Regions from separate parts of the Homo sapiens genome. Here region 1 is linked to region 2. The links are contacts of gene promoters, found by promoter capture Hi-C in blood cells and fetal thymus (Javierre and others, 2016). All regions are on one chromosome and are shown on one strand. The core of a region is centred on a gene start or on the middle of the fragment in contact, and the rest is flanking DNA. Distances in the headings are between cores, read along the strand shown. Region 1 holds the start of LOC100506236 (a long non-coding RNA gene). Region 2 holds the start of NPVF (neuropeptide VF precursor).

Region 1 (5,488 bases), core at 1,439-3,938, 610 kb before region 2:
GTGGATCATCAATGATCTCTTTAGGAATCATCCATGCCCCTAATCATCTTTTTTATTTTCTAATAATCCGTTGCTAAGGAATTATCATTTTCTATGTATTTCATCAAATAACAAAATCAAGAATCTCCATCTGGTTGTTTTTATGTCTCTCTCTAGATGATTACTGTCTTTCTTGGTAACAGATATGTGAGTAATAAATTGCTTTTAATGATGATGAAAAATTGCTTACTGAGCATTTGATATGTGCATGGCAGGGTGCCTTCACTCTGTGGACTTTGGCTACATGGAAAGCAGAGAAATAAAATTTAAATTAGGAACACATATTCTTTCTTTATAGCATAAGGTAAGTGTCTCATAACCTTGAAGTTAGGGGATACAGGTCATTGGCTAAAAGGATGGAAACCAGGGCATCCACATTCTAGTGCCAATCTGGGGGTACACTTGAACAATTTATTACAAGTCTTAGTCTTCTTATTTGCAAAATAAGAGATACTATGTGGAGTCTTCAAGAGGTTCTGCTAATGAAGACAGAAAAGATGAAGAAAGTATTGCAGAAGGATAGAAGTGTGCTACACAGTATAGTTTAAGTTGCAGTTCTTTTTATCCCAAATGTTTGATCTTTCAAGCCTTATTTTTCTAATTTTTAATTATAAAATATATATAACATAAAAGTGGCCATTTTAGCCATTTTAAGTGTACATTCATAGTGTTATACAACCATCACCACTATAAATTTCCAGAATTTTTTATTTCATACTGGAGCTCTGTACCCATTAATAAAAACTCTCCATTCCCCCTTACCCTCAGACCCTGGTAGCCTTTATTCTACTTTCTGTCTTTATGAATTTGCCTAGTCTACGTATCTTATATAAGCAGAATCATACAATATTGTCCTTTTGTGTCTTGTTTATTTCTCTTAACCTAATGTCTTCAAGCTTCATCCATGTTATTGCACTTAAAAAGGTGGGAATGTGATTTTTGGCTCTGCACTTAGCTTAGATCTGAATCAAATTAAGCCTCATCCAGGATGCTTCAACAATTTATAATTTAGTGAGGTTAGACTTGTTTTGGGCTCATAGGTGGTTTAAATTGGGCTTAAAAAGATTTATGCAAAATTCCAGTGCAATATTAGTAAGATCCAAAAAAGTCAGAACTTCGTTCCTTTTTAAGACTGAGTAATGTTTCACTGGGATAGTATTCCATTGTATGAACGTGCCAGGTTTTGCTTATCCATTCATCTGTTGATCTATGTCCACTTGGATTGTTTTCACGTTTTGGGTATTGTGAATAGTGCTGCTGTGGACATGGTGTACAGAACAAGTCTCATATTGAAGGGTTCCAGTTCACCTCTGCAGTCTTAAAGACTTGACACTCAACTGGGCAGAGGTACAGTATCTGGCGAGTAAAAGAAGGCAATTGGCAAATGGTTACACTTCTGGCTTGAAATGTTATAGGGTTAGTTTCTTTCCCCTTTTTTTCAGGGCAGATCTTTTCCTGGAATCAAGTTTGACTCCTAAAACCACCTTGGTGTGGTGGTGGAGCCCCAGGCGGATAAGAGCAGAAAGCCATTTGAATCCTGCTGCTTTACTTATTAATGGAGCCATTTGCTGTTGCGGAATTGAAAGTATTACAACTGAGTGACAGTTGTTTAATATTCTGATTACATGAACTTTGTGTGTTATGGTTTTGCCATTTGACATATTAGATTTCATAATGCAATTGAATTTGTGTGCTGGAACCATGTTTATTAACAGAGACTGACATGGTTCTCCTAAGAATTTACGTTAAGCTGACTGCAGTGATGTGGGAAGTCTATGGTGATAGTTGGGGGAGGCTGGAGCCCGTATGGACTAGAATCTTTTCTGTTTAAGTTTCACAAGAAAACTTCTTGGAGATGAAATCCATGTTTTCACTCATTTTGACATATTTTACAATGATGGATGTGAGATGGGGGAAGACTGGCTCAAAAATAGGAGATTGCTGAGGTCAAAAGTCAAAGGAATTGCTGTTTTTAAAGAGATTGTCCAAGGGGGAGCCACAGAAAAGCACTCAAACTGTCTGATTTTATTATTGTTTTCTCTCATAATGCCTTCCTGGCTGTGGGTATAAATCCATACTAGTTAACAAAAGTTTTGGTCGTATACAGCATTTTTTCAGGAGAATAAGATCTGCTCATTCCAAGATAGGTAACTGGGTCTAGAGCTATTTTTCAGTATAGTTATGGCCTAAAAACGTGGCAACATGATTTTTGCCTCGGCCCTCAGCTTACATTTGAATCAAACAAGGCCTCACCCATGAGGCTTTAATAATTATTAACTTAGTGAAATTGGGCAGGTCCTGGTCTTTAAAGTAGTTTAAATTGATTCTAAACAGATTTATGTAAAATTCCAGTGTAATATTAGTAAGATCCAAATAAATAAAAACTTCATTTCGTATTCTGGGAAATTATGGTTTTAAACTAGCAGAGAGAGTCTGTATGGTTAAAAATTATACAGCAAACAGACGGGCTATACCCATATCCAGGTTTTAATTTTTAAAATTATTATATATTAATTTTTTAAACTTACGAATATAATTAATTATGAAGGTAATATTACAGCAAATATATAAAATAAAATACTGCTTACCCATAATCTAACATCCTAAAGCAGCTTCTAATGTGTTTTGGCACAATTATTTATAGTCTTTTTCCTCATTGTAACTATTTAGCTATTTTTCTTTACATATTTATAATAATAATTTAAGGACAGTGTTTTATCTTGTTCTTCTCATTTAATATTGCATTAATATATTCCCCATGTTTCTACATTGTCTTCATAGCCATAATTTTAAGTGGCTTAATGAAAGGGAAGTGTGTAATGTAGAGCTTTCTGCCTATTTCCAGTTTTAAACTAAACCAGACTATAAGCATATGCAGATTTATCGTTCAAGATTTCAGGTATTCTCAGGCAATCCAGAGGTCCATGGAATGTGGTAATTAGTAATTTTACTGAAGCATTGGGGGAATGTGAGTCGCAAGACTGGAACTCAGGAGCTCACCAGCTAGAACACCAACTGCTTACTCAGTATAAAGATATTAACATAGTTTGCCTATTCTCAATTTGTCCCACAAGCATTTTACAGGGGGAAATTATTGTATTAGTTAATTTTTGCTGCATAACAAACCATCCACATTTTAGAGGCCTAAAACCACAAACATTTATTATTTAGTGCGTTATTCTGTGGCTGGCTGAGATGGCTGGGAGAGTTCTGGCCCGGGCAGACTCGGCTGGAGCTAGATGGTCTAGCATGGACTCAATCACATAGTTGGGTTGGCAGGCTGTTGGCCAGTGCCTTGGCTTTTCAGTATGTTTCCTCTCTAGCATCATAGCCCTATCTTGGGCTTATTTGCCTTAAGGTCTCATGGTTTCAGGTGCAGAAAGAGAAAACAAGATTTATGTGCAAGCGTTTTTCAAGCCTTTTTTGCTTGCATCATATTTGCTAATATTCTGCAGGCCAAAGCAAGTCATATGGCCAAACCCAGATCAAAGGATGAAAAAAGAGACTCTATTTCTTGATGGGTGGGGCAGAAATATCACAGGGCAGAGGGGCATGCAGACAGGAATGGAAAGAATTATTGGAACCATTTTTGCAAATAAACCAACACAATTTCATATATAGATGTACAGTCAAATTTGGGAATCTTTAAAAGTCCCTGGCAGATTCCTCCACAAACCCAAGGCCCACACAACTTGTAATTCATGGGAAGGGGGAGCTTCCAGTTATGGGCAAGTATTGTAAATAATACTTTAATGTACTTCTTTGTGTATATAGTTTTTAAAATATTTTGAGTTATTTGGTCAGGATAGAGTCCCAGAAGAATTCTTGGGGTAATGAAAACGAGTATTTTTATGTCTTTTAATATTTGCTTTCCAAAAAGTTGTGTTGAATCATGTCCTGTCAGCAATGTATGTTTGATTACCTATTTCACTATACTTCAGTGTTAAACTGAATGTTAACATTAAGAAAATTTTATAGTGAAAAGTTAAAAAATGGTATCTAATTTCTAGGGGTGTGGATTCTGCCATAAGAGAATTCTGCAGACTGGGTGGCTTAAACAATAGAAATTGATTGTCTGCTAGTTCGGGAGGCTTGAAGTCCGAGATTGAGGTGTAGACAGGTTTAATTTCTTCTGAGACCTCACTCCTCGGCTTGCAGATGGCGGCTTTTCTCTGTGTGCATGAAGCCCTAGTGTCTCTTCCTCTTTTTATAAGGATAACAGTCATATTGGATGAGGGTTCCACCCTTATGACCTCATTTAACTTCAGTTAACTCTTTGAAGGCCCTATTTTTCCAAATACAGTTACATTGGTAGTTAAGTCTTCAACATAGGAATTTTTGGGGAACACAATTCAGTCCCTAACAGGGTGGATCTAAAAGCTGTATGTGGCCTGAAGCTTATACAATTTTGGGGCCTTCTTTAAAAAGAATGTAAAATCACGCATACAAAATTGCTAGGTCCCCTGCCTAGGGTTTGGGAAGGGGCCTGTGCAAGCGAAGGGCCCCGAGACTTAAGGTTCATGGCTTACAATGAGCCCACCTCTGCTCATTGTTGTTTTTGTGCTTTACTTAACAGAGGGCATGATTGCTACTTGCTTGTATTTGCCAGATATAGAGTTAAGGCTATTGGTTTGATTATAGAGCAACAGGAGAGCAGTGTTATCATTTAGGGTGGAAGGGTCTCAGGTTTAAAGCTTTGAGTTTAAACAGACACTTAGGGTTTTTAGGAGGCCTTTCTTGTTCTAGTGGAGCAGAAAAGCACTTGCGTGGTATGTTTTTGTGACAATAAAGTCATGAAAGAGTGTGTCTTATTGTCGAAAGTGCCATCTCTCCCATCTGAGCACCGACGGCTAAAACATGATCAAGAGGGGACACATCTTCATTCTTTAGTTAGATACAGGGCTTAGAATTGAGGTACCCTTGGGAGAAGGAACACACCAACTTAAATTTGCATTAAGTTATACATGCCTGACGCTAGATTTTCTGGGAGCAGATTTTCATATGGGGAAGCAAGATGGTATTAAGTACGTAAACACGTGTGTTTGAAGAGAAGGTACTGAAAAATGGAGATTGAAGTGCAAATGACAAGCTTCACTTTAAAAAAATTTAGATAGGGCAGTGCTGCTTTCAGAGGACTTGGTTGATGTGTCTTAGTAGAGACCTTGTTCGCGTGGGGAGTCTGTTGTTTCAGAAATGTGTTTCTGCTGCTATTTCTGCTTCCAAGAATGTCAGATAAAGGGGCCTGAACACAACTGGGGACATGTGGGAAGGGGGAGCCTCTAGTCATGGGCAGGGGTGGGGCTGTGATGTAACAGGCATTGGCTTAGACCAATGGGAATGCAGAAACAGATGGATGGGGCAGAGATCCTTGGGTATAATGACTAATTAAGCATGATCTTTAAGTAGAGGTTGCAGGAAGTTTGGGGAGTTGATTGGTAGGACTGAGTAG
Region 2 (5,956 bases), core at 289-2,788:
AGTTTGGATCTACTGACTACACACACATACATACACACACACACACACACACACACACACACACACACAAAGAAATTCCATCAGCAGTTTGCAAAAGAACAATTTGGAAGAGAAATGTATTAAATCCTCAGGGAAATTAAACCCAAATAATCCAATAATGGCATTACAAAATTAACGATAGACTATGAATTGAATTAATTGCCTCCTACTGTGGGGTTCTTGGCTACTACAAACCAAAACAAATGAAGCCAATGATGTCAAATGCCTTAAGAGAGACCATAGGCAAGTTTGTATCACAAGAGTTCACCCACTGTGGTTTTTCAACTTTCTGGCTTGTTCTGGAGATCAATATGAAGAAAGATCTTCACTTCTGCCATCTCACGTCTCAAATTACATACGGTAGGTTGGTGAGAGAGGTGAGAGGTGGCACAGTTCTAGACACAACAGAGCAATTTTACAACTCTTTGTGAATTACCTCTAACTGTCTGTGTCTAGAAGTAGCTGGACTGTAGGAAATCCATGCAAGTCTTTTTCTCCTGAAAGGGCTGAAGGGACTGGTGGGAACAAGTAAAGGTGTCTCTAGAACCCAGGCAGTCTAGTGATAAGGCAGATATTTAAGAACAGTCAGCTGCTCCAAAAGAGATTCGCTTTGGCATTTCAGTAAATGCGCATTTATTTCTGTAAATTCTCTTTTAATGTCATGATGACAGCACACCTTTGGCAATACGCGATTACCTAAATAATATGCGTCCTGGGACCAATAGAGTTAGCATGTGTATGACTTACCAAGCCCCTGCTAGTCTCCCTAAGGACTTTGAGAGGGAAGGTAGGATGCAGCATCTTGATAGAAAGTTTTGGTGATTGACACAGCTTTACCAAATAAGACCCATAGAGCAAATACAGAGGGCCTGACTGCCTCCAGCTTCTCCTGAGACGCCAGTTTGTCAAAATGCCTATCAAGTATTTGCTCATATACACATCCTTCATGTTACGGCTAACATTGACCCCTGAAGCTTTTTAATAACCAAACAGCATTTTACAAAAAAACTAATTCATGGCATTTTGTTGGGATATTATAATTTTTTTCACATTCTTAATTTTGCTTGACATTTTGAAAATACTACGCCTAACTCTTTTGTGCAGATTAAAAAAAAAAAAACATAGCTAGCATGGATTGAATACTTCCTTTTCCTTCCCTCAAGAATTGACACAAACACCAAAAACAAAATACTTTTTGTTTAAGCTTAGAGAAATGAAGCATTCTGTCTGTTTGGAATCTTAATTACTATCCCCCCAAACTTACCTAATTAGAAGCTCTTTTATAATGAGGAAAATTATTTTCAAAGTTAATGAATTTGCAAGCACAAACATTGCTGTCTTCCCAGAATGAATTATTCACATTCCTTACATGCATATTTTAGTTGTACACTCTAATTAATATTAGTACTTAAAATGTGTGAGATTGATTTCACTGTTTAAAAAAAACTTTCCTTTGTTTTTAGACGATATAAAAACACCACAATTTTTTTCTCCTCTCATAAACATTGGGCTGCACATAGAGACTTAATTTTAGATTTAGACAAAATGGAAATTATTTCATCAAAACTATTCATTTTATTGACTTTAGCCACTTCAAGCTTGTTAACATCAAACATTTTTTGTGCAGATGAATTAGTGATGTCCAATCTTCACAGCAAAGAAAATTATGACAAATATTCTGAGGTAAGTTTTTTAAATCTCTCTAATGTGAGTAGCATTAATTACATAATATTAATCCTAAGTCTAATGATTTTGTAAAGACTAAGAAGTAAGTTGGTGTGTACTCTGTTTTTTTGTGAAATTTCAGCCTTCCTCTGACAATGTATAAATGTCACTTGTTTATTTAGCACGACAGCAATCAGGCTGGCCTCTGTCATGACAATTGTACTGGTGAGTATGGTACTTAGCAAGCATACAGCGCATTAATAATTTTCAATCAACTCACAAGTGCATATTTGTAATAAATGGTTGGCAGAAATAAGATTTGGGTACATTTCAGCTGGACATTCAAATTGTTTTAAACTACAAACAAACAAACAAAAAACACATTTCTTTTGGGCTTAGCAATTACAAACTGGCCAATGTGTACTAAATCTATATCTTAGTAAAGTGTTTACCTGTAGATGGTAAAATTGCAAATTGTTTTTATTTTCTTTTATGTGTTTTCCAAATCTGATGAAATTAGCGTGTATACTCATTTTACTCAAGGGATAATCAGAAAACAATCATTTAAAAATTTCCATATGGACAAGCTCCTATGGTAAAGACTAAATCTAATTAAATATTCTCTGTATTTGAGATGGTTCCTACAAAGTTGGCATACTTGTGATGCAGTAACCCATAAACCAATGAGTTCTTTGCTAAAAATGTATTTTATATTCTAATAAAAATGCAATTGGTTTCTTGAGAAAGCTTTAGAGTGGTACCCTGAGTAAGATAGAATAAAAAAGAAATCCACTGGGCCTTCTACAACTATACCCCAAAACCTGGCCAGCATCTCTGTTTTGATGTACCGTGTTTCCATGTGCCACTTTGGCCTTTAAAGAGAAACATGAAAAATGAGTGGGAGGTTTCTCTAAAATCAAATTATAAAAATATATAAAATATTCCATAAGCAACATGAATCAAAAAAACCAAAAGAGAATAACTGCAGTAAAATAAACTTTTGCCACATTTCAGTACTTCATTATGTTCCTGCTGCTTGAACTCATTGCTGTATTCACTATATATATTTTATAAATATTTTATGGTTGTCTTACAATAGTCTAGGGACAGAGAAACTATATTGCTTTAAAAAGCTTAATACAAATCATTTAAAAATTCTGCACATATGAACACAAACTTTGTTTATAGCTTTAACAATTCTGCAGATTAAAGTCTAGATTTAAGTTAATTGGGGGTTTAAATCTGTTGCTTATAACAACAGTATGTTATTGTAATGGTCATTTCTAATTATAGCCTAGAGGATACCCAAAAGGGGAAAGAAGCCTCAATTTTGAGGAATTAAAAGATTGGGGACCAAAAAATGTTATTAAGATGAGTACACCTGCAGTCAATAAAATGCCACACTCCTTCGCCAACTTGCCATTGAGATTTGGGAGGAACGTTCAAGAAGAAAGAAGTGCTGGAGCAACAGCCAACCTGCCTCTGAGATCTGGAAGAAATATGGAGGTGAGCCTCGTGAGACGTGTTCCTAACCTGCCCCAAAGGTTTGGGAGAACAACAACAGCCAAAAGTGTCTGCAGGATGCTGAGTGATTTGTGTCAAGGATCCATGCATTCACCATGTGCCAATGACTTATTTTACTCCATGACCTGCCAGCACCAAGAAATCCAGAATCCCGATCAAAAACAGTCAAGGTAAATACCTGGAAACCAGTCAAAGTGCATGGGCAGTTATATAGAGGTGGTCTAGAAACTTTAAAAATGACTACATCTTTTCAACATAAGTTTCTAAGACAGTAAGTTTCCTAGCAGGAGAGAGAGGCAAAGACACAAGGAACTAAATACCTGTAAATTGGGAACTATAGAAGGCCAGGTATAATAAGCATGGCTCAAGGTATAAAATCATAGGATGGCTTCCCCTAAGCCACATATAAGCATCAATCTCCTTATCCTATAGCTGCTCACTAAGTCCATGCAATGACAGTATATTGTCTAAACGCTGGACCTCTCCCACATAAAAAGTCTCATGGGAGAGAGTTGTTCAGGTGCAAAGGACCCCATCTCAATAATCTAGGTCTCAAATGCAGCAGGTTTTCTTTCCTAACTTTTAATCAAAGTGTTTTCTTTTATCTGGATCTCATCTTATAAACTCTGTTATAATCATTATTTATATTAAGAAATATGTATTATCTCCTATGTACACATCAGAATGTAAGATTTAAAAATTAATAACCTACCTACCTGTTCTTTTATAGTAGAGAGCGTATGCTTAAAAAAAATTTTTTTTATATGAAGTAGAACATGATGCTTTAGTTAAGACCTGAAGAAAGTACAGTGGCAGATTGTGTCACCTTATCTGAGAGACCTTCTCAGGACACTCCAGGTTTGTTCTTTTCCATGGTACTTATCCCATCTGACATATATTTAGGGTTCATTGCCTTTATTAGAATTTCAGTCCTACAAATCCCATAATTTTTGTCCACTGCCATATGCCCAGAGCCTAAGAACTGTGTCTACCACATAGTAAGCCCTCAATATCTGACGGGATGAATGAAATAAGAGAGGCACTAATAAGGTCCTGCAGAGGGTCAGAAAAAAAGAGAGTGTTTCTGTATGTGGAAACCTGCCTTTCAAAAGCAGCTTTCTCTTGAACATTCGGAGACTGGTGAGAAGAGGGAGGTCATTTTTAGGCACTAAAGCAAGGTGAGCCAAGAACAGCCGAGGCGCCCTTTGGCAAGAGCAAAAAGGATGTGAAGAAGAGAGGAAAGAAGTCTAGACCGTTAGAGTAAGAGCAGAGAGCGCAGATATTGAGGACCCGGACAAGGACTTGGGGCGTCATTCATCAGGAGAGGGAGAACCACTGACATTTCTGCTGAGGTTGTGGGATGTTATACAGAGGCAGAATTGACAGCTAATCAGATGTTGGGAGTGGGGCGGTGTGGAGGGAGAGAGATGAATCAATGATAAGTGTTTGGGACTGAGTGCCCATCACAGATTCAGCATCCCCCCAATATCTCACTCATTTCAAGTGCAACACAATTCAACTCAAGTATAATTAGGCAGTTAGGACTATGGCTTGTATTTGTATACACACTTGCATGCTGTTGTTCTGATGGGTGACAACATTTTATACTGCTTACATTTTAGGAGACTGCTATTCAAGAAAATAGATGATGCAGAATTGAAACAAGAAAAATAAGAAACCTGGAGCCTGTCCCTAAAGCTGTGGCCTGTAATCTACAAATGGCTCTATAGCGAAGACCACACGGAAGAGTAGCTACATACACTTCATCAGCTATGGATCATCAACGGCAATTTTTCCTTGTCAGTACAGCTATAATAGTATCTTGAAAGTTGTAAAAAAATTAAAGCATATTTGTTACGTAAAGTTAAAATGATTTTTGTCTGAATAAAAAAAAAGCATTGCAAATGCTTTAGAAATCTCTGATAATGGAGAGAGAGACAGAGGACCCTCCTCACTACCCTATATAAAAATCATTGGCACAGTTACACTTAATAAAAAAAATTAAACAGAAGAGCACCCTGAAAAACATTATGATGGAAATTAAATAGTATGCCAGAATAACATGGTTGACAAATAAGTGAACAAGGATTAAAAATCACTTACAAACGTGTTTCTGTACACCCTTTCTATCGTGTCAAATGTTAATGAATCTGTGATCAATTGAAATGTAAATGTCTGTGTAAAACTACAAAATAAAAACTCTTAGACTTTAGGGAGAAAAGAAAAAGGCAACTATGAGTTACCTCTTTTAGTGTCTCCTCTATCTACATCCAGAAATTTGCCTCTAGTGAGTTTCTTTCCTCCTCATTTAACATTTCAAGTTTTTGATTTGCAAAAAGATCTGGCTATTCCTCAACTAAGAATTTATAAATTCAGTACACCACAACACAATGCAGTGACTTTCCTTTAACCCTAAGGATATGAAGTCCTTCATCAGATATAGCTAGTTTATTGAACAGTCTCAACCCCACTGGGTGCACACAGGAAATGGTTTTATTTTTCTCCCAGTGTGCCCCGCGCTGGGCTGTGGTGAATCTCCCGCCCCTGCTGATTAAAGGTCCCTTAATGCTACCCTGGACATACTGCATAACTCCCTCGGTCACTTCCTGGTATTAAAAAACTTCGTCAAGTCCAGTTGAAGACTCCAACCTCATATCCAAAAATAAAGTGTCCCCACCCACCTCCATGGCTGGCTGGGCTGGTGGAAGGGCCTAAAGTGGGAAAGGGG

The links. Contacts are between HindIII fragments. The CHiCAGO score rates a contact against its expected background, and 5 or more counts as called.
Region 1: a contact is called between a fragment that was not itself captured here and the fragment with the promoter of NPVF in region 2, in 1 of 17 cell types (M2 macrophages). The highest score is 5.0, in M2 macrophages.

What each region holds. Positions count from the first base shown.
Region 1 is chr7:25,833,014-25,838,501 of GRCh38, reverse strand. It overlaps LOC100506236 (a long non-coding RNA gene), which reads left to right and starts at 5,418. Exons shown (of 3, transcript XR_108752.5): 1 at 5,418-5,488. The HindIII fragment of the contact is 3,501 bases long and covers 938-4,438 here.
Region 2 is chr7:25,224,068-25,230,023 of GRCh38, reverse strand. It overlaps NPVF (neuropeptide VF precursor), which reads left to right and starts at 1,538. Exons shown (of 3, transcript NM_022150.3): 1 at 1,538-1,722; 2 at 2,998-3,398; 3 at 4,851-5,454. The coding sequence starts at 1,585. The coding sequence ends at 4,902. The HindIII fragment of the contact is 394 bases long and covers 1,246-1,639 here.